Linked DNA regions of Homo sapiens: region 1 is linked to region 2. Evidence: promoter capture Hi-C in 16 types of primary human blood cells and fetal thymus (Javierre and others, 2016). All regions are on one chromosome and are shown on one strand. The core of a region is centred on a gene start or on the middle of the fragment in contact, and the rest is flanking DNA. Distances in the headings are between cores, read along the strand shown. Region 1 holds the start of TNFSF13B (TNF superfamily member 13b). Region 2 holds the start of COL4A2-AS2 (COL4A2 antisense RNA 2).

Region 1 (6,915 bases), core at 871-3,370, 2.2 Mb before region 2:
ATGCCAGCAAACCTACTGTACAGTAGGGGTAGAGATGCAGAAAGGCAGAAAGGAGAAAATTCAGGATAACTCTCCTGAGGGGTGAGCCAAGCCCTGCCATGTAGTGCACGCAGGACATCAACAAACACAGATAACAGGAAATGATCCATTCCCTGTGGTCACTTATTCTAAAGGCCCCAACCTTCAAAGTTCAAGTAGTGATATGGATGACTCCACAGAAAGGGAGCAGTCACGCCTTACTTCTTGCCTTAAGAAAAGAGAAGAAATGAAACTGAAGGAGTGTGTTTCCATCCTCCCACGGAAGGAAAGCCCCTCTGTCCGATCCTCCAAAGACGGAAAGCTGCTGGCTGCAACCTTGCTGCTGGCACTGCTGTCTTGCTGCCTCACGGTGGTGTCTTTCTACCAGGTGGCCGCCCTGCAAGGGGACCTGGCCAGCCTCCGGGCAGAGCTGCAGGGCCACCACGCGGAGAAGCTGCCAGCAGGAGCAGGAGCCCCCAAGGCCGGCCTGGAGGAAGCTCCAGCTGTCACCGCGGGACTGAAAGTGAGTTTGCAGCAGCTGCAAGACGCAGGCAAGATCCTGCCTACACTGCTGCCTCTCCCTCGCCTCAGCTGTCTTTCTAATAACTTGAAGTTTTTCTGTTCATAGATCTTTGAACCACCAGCTCCAGGAGAAGGCAACTCCAGTCAGAACAGCAGAAATAAGCGTGCCGTTCAGGGTCCAGAAGAAACAGGTATGTTTTGGGCACAGACACTTTTAGGAGTCAGGGATTAGAGAATAACATCCAGTCTGGGGGAGCTGGAGGTGAGTATCCCCTCTATGAACCTATTAAATAGAGACTATGAAATTTGCCATCCAAAGCAGACATTGCTTTAGAGCAAAGCCCCAGCGCTGGCAAATGTAACAGGCTGCATGGGTGTGCTTTTTCCTCCAATGAGCAGATCGTGTGACTGGAAGCATTTCTCTGTGCGTGTGTAAGTATTTATCTGTGCATTAAGCATAGAGGAGATAAAAGGGCCATATGTGTTTCCTCAGGTAGATAATGCCCTCCCATGTGAGAAGCATTATTCATCACTCCAGAAAAATAAAAAAAAGCATTACATGTTAGAATTAGACTTTGCTTACTACCTGGGTCATAGAAAGTTAAAGACATCTGTTTTCTGAATGTACATTACATGTTGTGAAACCAGGTGAAGGTTGTAATGAAAGGCCCTGTATGTTGTACTTTAATTTTGTTTATTTGTTAAAAAGGTTATTTTACACACACACACACACACACGCACAGACACACACACAGATTTTAAAGCTTCTCTTTAAGGTACGCTTTTCCAGGGGATCCATGCATTTATCGTCTTCTTATAATCGTCCTTTACTGATTTCTGACTTTCTTCATGTTCTGCTCATTCCACGGAACTTTACAGAGTTGGTGGGGCCTACCAAAATGATCGATTCTAGTTCTTTCATTTGAAGGTGAAAAAAAGAATCTTTGTATACATTTATTAAAGTTATAATATAACAAATTCTTAATATTATTGTCCTTTTATTAAATATATTGAAAGAATATTTTTTGAGCACCTGGAACGTATCGTACAGCTATAGACCAGAATAGGCATTTTCAAACATACTATTTCGTTTAACCTTCACAGTGACGCTATGAAGTCCACAGAATACATGCAATAATTTATGTATATTTTCACTTCTGAAGAGAATTGCATAAGAAATGTAGTGAGAGATAGACCAGGGACCCTTCTATCACACACACACACACACACACACACACACACACACACACACACACGCATGAGGTACCCTGACTATAAACTTATTTTTTGACTATATGCTTTATTCATAAAAAATTGTTTCTTATTTTATAAAACCATAATTTTTGGTATCTGGTTATTGTATCTTTATACTAGTTATCAGGAATAACTGGGCTTAAACATTTTTAAATTAGGAAACATGCACATTTTTATTATTTTAACACATCAATTATTTTTATCGTCTGCATTTTATAGTCTATATTTCCTACATAATTGAAAATAATACGGAATATATACTATAATATTTTTTGTTTTGACTTATACAATAAGGATTTTTCCTATTTCTAAGTATTTTTCATATATCTGTATTAATTTATCTAACAATTGTTTTAAATGGTTATTTCCATTCTCTTTGCTATAATACAACATGCAAAAGTTTTGCACAGAACTCTTTTATTTCTGTGAAATTATATATTCAATATAAAATTCATATAGTGGAATATCTGAGCTAGGGAGAAGAAACATCTTCATCACCCTTGCTTCCGACTGCCATATTGTTTTCAAAATGAGTTATACATGCAATCAAAAATGTGGTGTACCGGTTCTCCACATTCTTGCTTGCATGTTATTTTTAAAGTGTATTTTGACTAGTTTAGTAGTTGTAAAACAATATCTCACATTTATTTTGATGTGTTGCTTGTTTACTAATATGAATAAACTTTCTGCATATTTTGATTATTTATAATTTTATCTTTTGCTAATTTTTATTTATAACTGTCTCCACTTGTCTGTCCCATGTTTTTATAATTTTGGATAAGCTCTTCCTAATTAGACATATTGATAATTGATCAAAATTTTGATGTAAATATTTTAACAGTTTTGCTTCTTTTTTTACTTGAACATTTTGCATTTCTCTATAGTAAAGTGATAATCTTTAAAAAATTTTCCCTAATATTAAAGCTAAAAATACATTTGTTCATGTTTTCTTAAGTAGTTGACTCCCTGCCACTTTGACTTTTTCATAGTTGAGTGTTTTGTTTTAACTCATTAGTCCTTCTGTTGTTTATTTTGATGAATCATCTCACATTGGCTTTAACTTCCCCCTCTCTCTTTTTTCCTTTCTAACTGGTATCTCAACCAAATGTATTAAATAGTTCTTTTTAACTCCTTGGTGTTGAAAAGCTTACTGTGTTTTATTAAGTTCCTCATAAGAGTTGAATCTATTTGAGACTCTTTTTTTTAATTGATTATTCTATTTATATGCTTTAAAGAATATTTTTAAGGTAATTTGTATTATAAGAGGCTTCAATAACTAGTAGGGTCAGGATCCTTCAATCTCCTTAACCTTCACTGCTAATATCCCCGTTTCTAAATATTAGTTTTAAAAATAAACTTTAACTTTACAATTAAAAAAAAAGATGTAGACTCATTTCAGCAGATTTAAGAAGAAAAGAATAATAGAGTAGGAAAGAAATAACTTCTTGGGTCACATTTTCCCAAAATTCTCCTATTAATACTTTTATGTATTTGTGTTTTAATGGCATCCAGGAATAGTATACTGATGAGAATCTTTCACCAAATAATTTGCAATTTGTAGATTCTAACAAAGTGAAAAAAAATTTGCCCAGATTTCCACAGCCCAGAAGTAGCTACTATTATTATTTCATGGTTTGCCCTAGACTTTTTAATAAACCTTAATACAGTGTGCATATAGGTATATATTGCACACAGTTGAGCCTTGAACAACACAAGTTTTAACAGCATGGATACACTTACAGGTGGATTTTTTTTTTCAATAAACCTATTGGAAAATTATCTGTAGATTTGTGATAATTTGAAAAAACTCATGGAAGAACTGTGTATCTTTGAAATGTTGAAAATATTAAGATTAATTAGCCATGTCATGAATGTATAAAATATATGTAGATACTGGTCTATTTTCTTATTACTATCATAAAATATACACAAAAGTTAAAAATTCTCAAAACATATGCATACAAACAGACTGTACATAGCGCCCTTTGTAGTCTAGAGAAATGGAAACAAACATAAACATGCAGTATTAAGTCATCACTGCATAAAATTAACTGTGGTACATACTGTACTACTGTAATAATTTCATAGCCACCTCCTGTTGCTACTGCAGTGAGCTCAAGTGCTGTGAGTATCTGCTTAAAACACCATGTGATGCTAATCATCTCTGCATGAGCCAGTTGTATCTCCAATCAGTTGGATATTGCAGTAAAAATGATTTCTCATGATTTGTGTGTATTTTTCTTCTTGTGTAATGCAATATCATAAACCTTGAATAACACCATGAGACCTATAGAAAATGCGATAGTGATGCTGGAAATGCTCCCAGGAAGCAAAGAAGAGTCATGACATTATAGTTGACCCTTGAACAACACAGGTTTGAACCGCGAGGGTCCCCTTGTATGTGGATTTTCTTCCACTTTCCACCCTTGAGATAGCAAGACCAACGCCTCCTTTCCCTCCTCCCCCTTAGCTTACTCAATGTGAAGAATGAAGAACTCTATAATGATCCACTTCCACTTAATGAATAGTAAATGCATTTTCTCTTCCTTATGATTTTTTAAAATAACATTTTCTTTTCTCTAGCTTATTTTATTGTAAGAATACACTACATAATACATATAATTTATGAAATGCGTATTGATTGAGTTTTTGTTATCAGAAAGGCTTCTGGTCAACAGTGGGCTGTTAGTAATTAAGATTTGGGAGTCAAAAGTTAAGCACAAAGTTTTGACTGCATGGGGTCAGTGACCCTAATTCCTGTGTTGTTCAAGGATCAACTGTATTTGTTCATATACATATGAACAATACATATGAACAATACATATATGAACAAATACATATATTTATACAAATATATGTACAAATATATACACATACAAATATATATATATATACATATATATACATACATAGTGTGCATATGTGTTATGTGTATATATTCAAATAGGACATAGTATACACACTCATAACTTTCACAAATCCAAGGTGGAAGATTTGAAGATAAGAATCTTAATGACATCATGTCTACTATTCCTTGTTAATAAAATTAGGAAATTCATTTGAATGTTGTTCTAGATACTATTCTTTGGTGGAGGGAAAGTTTATTTTATTTAGCATACTCCAAAATTAATGTTTATATTCCCAAAAAAGTTGTCTGTAACACAAGGACGTTTTTTAGTAGGAATTTTTTGGCATTGAGAAAATTCTATGCAGCTTTCTTTGATTTTTGTTTTCATTCAAGTTCTGATTTATTTTCAGTAAGACTCAAAACCTTAAGTTGTCCTTTTTACTTTTAAAGTGTTTATTTATGTTCATATTTATTAATTGTCTACATGTTTTAGAACCAAGTATTTTTATTGGAACTTCACACAAACTGTAGAAGAAGGGAGGGGAATTACCATCAGCCAACATGTCCCAATGATACTCTCTTCCAGGCATCCCATGGGTAAACAGTGGTTTTACTTAATGTTTTAATTTTAGAATTTAGTACTTTGGCTTTAGTTTTGTTTTTCTTAATTACTTTGTGTTTCAAACCAAAATCTCATTAAGCTTAATGTATTTCATAATATCATTTTTGATTGTAGTATAATAAACAGAAATGTGGGGAAATCCAGGATTAAAAAATTGCCAAATAGCTCATATTAGCCAAAAATTCACTTTTAAGCCCGTAACTGTGTTTGGAGATATTCCCAATTTAAAAATTAACTAAAACAATATGGCTTTGAAAATATTACGTAATAAAATTTATTTACAAATGGAATCATGAAGATCCACATTTTGAACATCACTTAACTATAATTTTATTAATTTTAAGAACCTAAAGATGAATGTCTTTAGAGTCTATCAAGAAAGTGAATTCTTTCAAATGGGTATCACTGACCTAAAAAGGTTCATTGTTAAAATTAGGTAACCATTGTATTTTCTTTCCTGTTAATTAATAACTATTAGAAATTTATGTGTTTTAGGATACAGAAAGACAAAATTATTTTTATTGATAATGTTTATTATAATTGTCTCAATTTTAATAATAAAATAATAGTAAAAATATGGACAATTCAAAGTAATGTAAAGCAAGAATAGAAAAAATTGTCCGTATTTCACCTTCCAAATAATTATCATGAGATTTTTGGTCAATCTACTTTAAGGTATATTTTTCTTCATTTTTAAGTGAGCTTGGGATTGTTTAAGAATTACACACAGCTTGCAAAGAATACAGTGTGTTGGCATGTACCCCTATCCAGCTTCCCTAATACTAACATCTTATATGAACATGGTATTTCATTACAAAAAGGAAACCAACATTAAGACTTAACTATTAGCTAAATTCTAGACTTAATTTGAATTTCACGAGTTTTTCTACTAATGATTTTATGTTTTAGGATCCATCAGGATATCACATTGTATTTAACATTTTTTAAATTAAAATTTTGAATGTAGCATATATAAACACCAAATATTATACCTTAAGTTTTCTATCGGATAAACCTTTCTAATTGCTAAAAGTGAAGATATCAATACTATTTTTGAGTCTTCTTTTTTGAAATCCAAAGTCCAACTCCTTTGCAAGGAAAGATGAGATGTTTGACAAGTCTGTAATGTCCAGTCTTTGCCCGGTTGGCATTTCTGGCTTAGCTGTGAGTTCCAGGCTGTAACATGAGTGTTGGAAGCGTGCAATGTAGAACTTGACCATCCAGCCCTTATCAAAATTAGGCTGACTTGAGCCTCTTACCCAGCAAGGGTGTGTTCCTTCGTGGAACAGAACCAGCTGGCTGCTGCTTAGGCGATCTTTGACCAGAGCTTTCCCTGAGAGTTATTTTTTCTTTCCCCCTGCTTCAATAGTGAGACTTTTCTTCAGTGTTGCAAGAACTGGCTTCTGTTCAACTTCTGGAAAAGCATTTAAAATTGAAAACGTTGACCTTCCAACCAAATCTTTGACCTGTTCTTGTTAAGCTTGAGATTTTGGGAAACGGAAGAGCTAGGAAACAAATCAGTCAACACAGCCAAATGTGATATTGTGTCTCTTTTACACAATCTTACATTATCGTGAGTTGAAGAGAAACAGAAAAATGATAGTACATATAGTTAATTAGCAAATTAAAATACAAAAAAATGGTAAATATG
Region 2 (2,956 bases), core at 1-2,500:
AAAAAGCTTGCCAGCCATCTTCTCAGATGCCCTCACAGTACAAAGAAGGAAGATATTTTTTTGTCTGTTTTCCACAGGGAGTGCCTGGCAACATTGGTGCTCCCGGACCCAAAGGAGCAAAAGGAGATTCCAGAACAATCACAACCAAAGGTGAGTTCCTCTCTGGCCACGCGGCCCCTGGGGCACTGAGCCTTCCTGTGGGCACCTGCCTGGGCAGCTTCACATGCAAATCCCTTTCTAGGTGAGCGGGGACAGCCCGGCGTCCCAGGTGTGCCCGGGATGAAAGGTGACGATGGCAGCCCAGGCCGCGATGGGCTCGATGGATTCCCCGGCCTCCCAGGCCCTCCCGTGAGTAGCCACAAACTGCGGCAGCTCCGTCCTCTCTTCTTCATCCTTCAGGTTCTCCAAACACCCCAGAAGCAAACAGTATTGACATGAGCACTAAACCAACCTGTGCATAGGACAGGCTGCTCATTCTGCTCATTCTATTTCTAATGAGCAGAAATCAGACTTTTTAGGAAACGGTGAATTAAGTTAGAAGCCAAGCTCCAAATGAACATTTAAAAGTCAACAATCAAAGAAATATTCCTCCTGGTGTAACAGACTAAGAACCCTCCCCCGCCAAAAAAAGTAGACTATTCTAAAATGGGTGGTGGAACCCTATTTTTCCAAGGTAAATCATGAAATATACAATTTCATTTTTGCAACAAACACACACTGGTGTTGAAGGAGGGGCTACCTAGTAGCCTGCAGAGACCCCAGCATCATTTCCTCAGGGGAGGCTGGGGTCAGAGGCGCGGGAGGCAGCCATGGAGGGAGACAAGACCCCTTCCTGTGCACCCTCCAGCCTCTGAGCCTCTCCTGCCACCACGCCTTTCCCACTGCCAGCTCTGGAGCATTCTCTTCTCAGAAGGACCTTGCAACCTTATTTCTCACGTCTTTTTTTCTAGATTCCATTTTCCTCCCTCTAGTCACCAAGCCTGTACCTCCTTAAGCTCTTTGTACTGGTTTCCTGGGGCTGAGGTCACAAACTGCCACAGACTGGGCAGCTTAGACATCAGAAATGTATGGTCTCACAGCTCTGGAGGCTGAAAGCCGACATCAAGGTGTCTGCAGGGCTGGTTCCTTCTGAGACAGTGCGGGAGGATCTGTCCCTGCCTCTCTCCCAGGTTCCCGGAGCTCTGGCATTCCTTGGCTTATAGACGGCTGTCTTCTCTCTGTCTTCTCATCATCTGTCCTCTCTGTGTGTCTGTCTCTGGGCCCAAATTTCCCCTTTTTATAGGGAGAGCGGTCATATTGGAATGGGCCCATCCTAAAGACCTCATCTGACCTTGAGCACCCTCAAAGACCTTATTTCCAAATAAGGTCACATGTCTAGGTCCTGGGGGTTAAGACTTCAGCATCATTGGAGGACGATTGAAGTCATAATCCTCTTTCTCCTCCTCAGAGCCTCACGCCTGAATTCTATTCGCAGCTTATTTGCCTCATTCCATAACCCATGTCTTCTCTAGTTTTAACGTGGGTCATGTCTGTAATAACACTCTTGAGTGCAGTGGTACAATCAAAGCTCACTGCAGCCTCGAACTTCTGGACTCAAGCCATCCTCCTGCCTCAACCTCCCGAGTACCTGGGACCACAGGTGCACACCAGCACACCCACCTAATATTTTTAAAATTTTCTGTAGAGATGAGATCTCTCTATGTTGCCCATGCTGGTCTCAAACTCCTGGGCTCAAGTGATTCTCCTGCCTTGGCTTCCCAAAGCACTGGTTTTATAGACATCAGCCACCACACCCGGCCCACATTTTTACAATTTAAGTGCAGTTTTTTGGGGCCAGAGAACACAGATAATTCTATGATTGGGTATCTTAAAAATCTCATCTGGGAGGCAACAGGGTTAAATAAGAGGCAAAGTCATAATTGGTCACTTTAGCCAGAAGAGGAGGATGAGTGATGATTCCTGTGGTTGGAACAGTCTTTGGCCTGTTCAGTGTCATGTGGGGTGGGGGTGGTGAGTGTATGTGTGGTGTGTGGTGTGCTCATGTGTGTATGTGTGTGGTCCGTTTGAGTCTGGATTTGTTACGGTAGTGGTGGCCTTCCCTGGAGTTGGTGCCTTGTGAAGTTGGTGACCAGGAGGTGCACCTGTCCAGCCATGGGGTTCACCCACCCCTGCGGCTCCCAAGCCTGGCTGCCAGTCCCAGCCCAGCTGGGGGCAGGTGGTCGGAGCAGGGTTAGGGGTAGGGGTGAGGGTTAGGGTCAGGGAGAACCTTGCAGCCTCAGCTTCCCATTCTCGGGGTGTAGGGACTTTCCCAGTGCTTGTGTGCCTTCCTTGTTTGGTGGCATCTCTAAACCAAGAATGTCAACTTCTGCCTTTAGAAAACTCGTGATCCTGCCTGTGCCACCTTCCAGTGGCATCATCCCCACTGCTGTCCACTAAGTTTGGGGCATCTGCCCTGTGATCTCTGCAACAGCCTTGTGTCCCCCTCCCCTGTGAAAAAAAGCTAAAACACAGGGGTACACCACTTAATCAAGGTCTCATAAATAGAGCTGGACCGGTGTCCCTGCCCCGCTCCGTCATGCCTTTGACAAGGAAGGGGCTGTGGTGTCAGTGGAGAGCAGGGTTTGATTTCTTATAAGCAGCTGCCTCATTGTCATGAGAACACCCAGCCTCGTCCCGTGGCTCAGCAGATGAGCGGGAGCTTATGCGCATGGCTGTTCCACCAGCACGTGGGGACAGCACCGAGCCGTGCCGTGGTGTGTGCGCAGATCACACCAGCATCACTGCTGCCAGCCTCCCCACCCCATCCCTGCACCTCCCACCAGCTCCCCCCCGCACCCTGCAGCTGGTGCTTTCATCCACAGGGCAGCCCCTCTCCATTCCCAATCCTGTAATCTCTCCTGACTTCTGAGGCGCACACGGCTCTTTCCTTGTCCAAATTAGCTTCCTTTCCTTTAAC

The links. Contacts are between HindIII fragments. The CHiCAGO score rates a contact against its expected background, and 5 or more counts as called.
Region 1: a contact is called between a fragment that was not itself captured here and the fragment with the promoter of COL4A2-AS2 in region 2, in 1 of 17 cell types (M1 macrophages). The highest score is 5.2, in M1 macrophages.

The regions. Positions count from the first base shown.
Region 1 is chr13:108,269,694-108,276,608 of GRCh38, forward strand. It overlaps TNFSF13B (TNF superfamily member 13b), which reads left to right and starts at 25. Exons shown (of 6, transcript NM_006573.5): 1 at 25-541; 2 at 647-731. The coding sequence starts at 203. RefSeq lists enhancers at 61-490, 442-950 and a silencer at 851-930. The HindIII fragment of the contact is 1,636 bases long and covers 1,303-2,938 here.
Region 2 is chr13:110,462,037-110,464,992 of GRCh38, forward strand. COL4A2-AS2 (COL4A2 antisense RNA 2) reads right to left here and starts at 1,251. Exons shown (of 5, transcript NR_171022.1): 1 at 987-1,251. COL4A2 (collagen type IV alpha 2 chain) reads left to right here. Exons shown (of 48, transcript NM_001846.4): 23 at 78-150; 24 at 242-348. The HindIII fragment of the contact is 13,540 bases long and covers 5-2,956 here.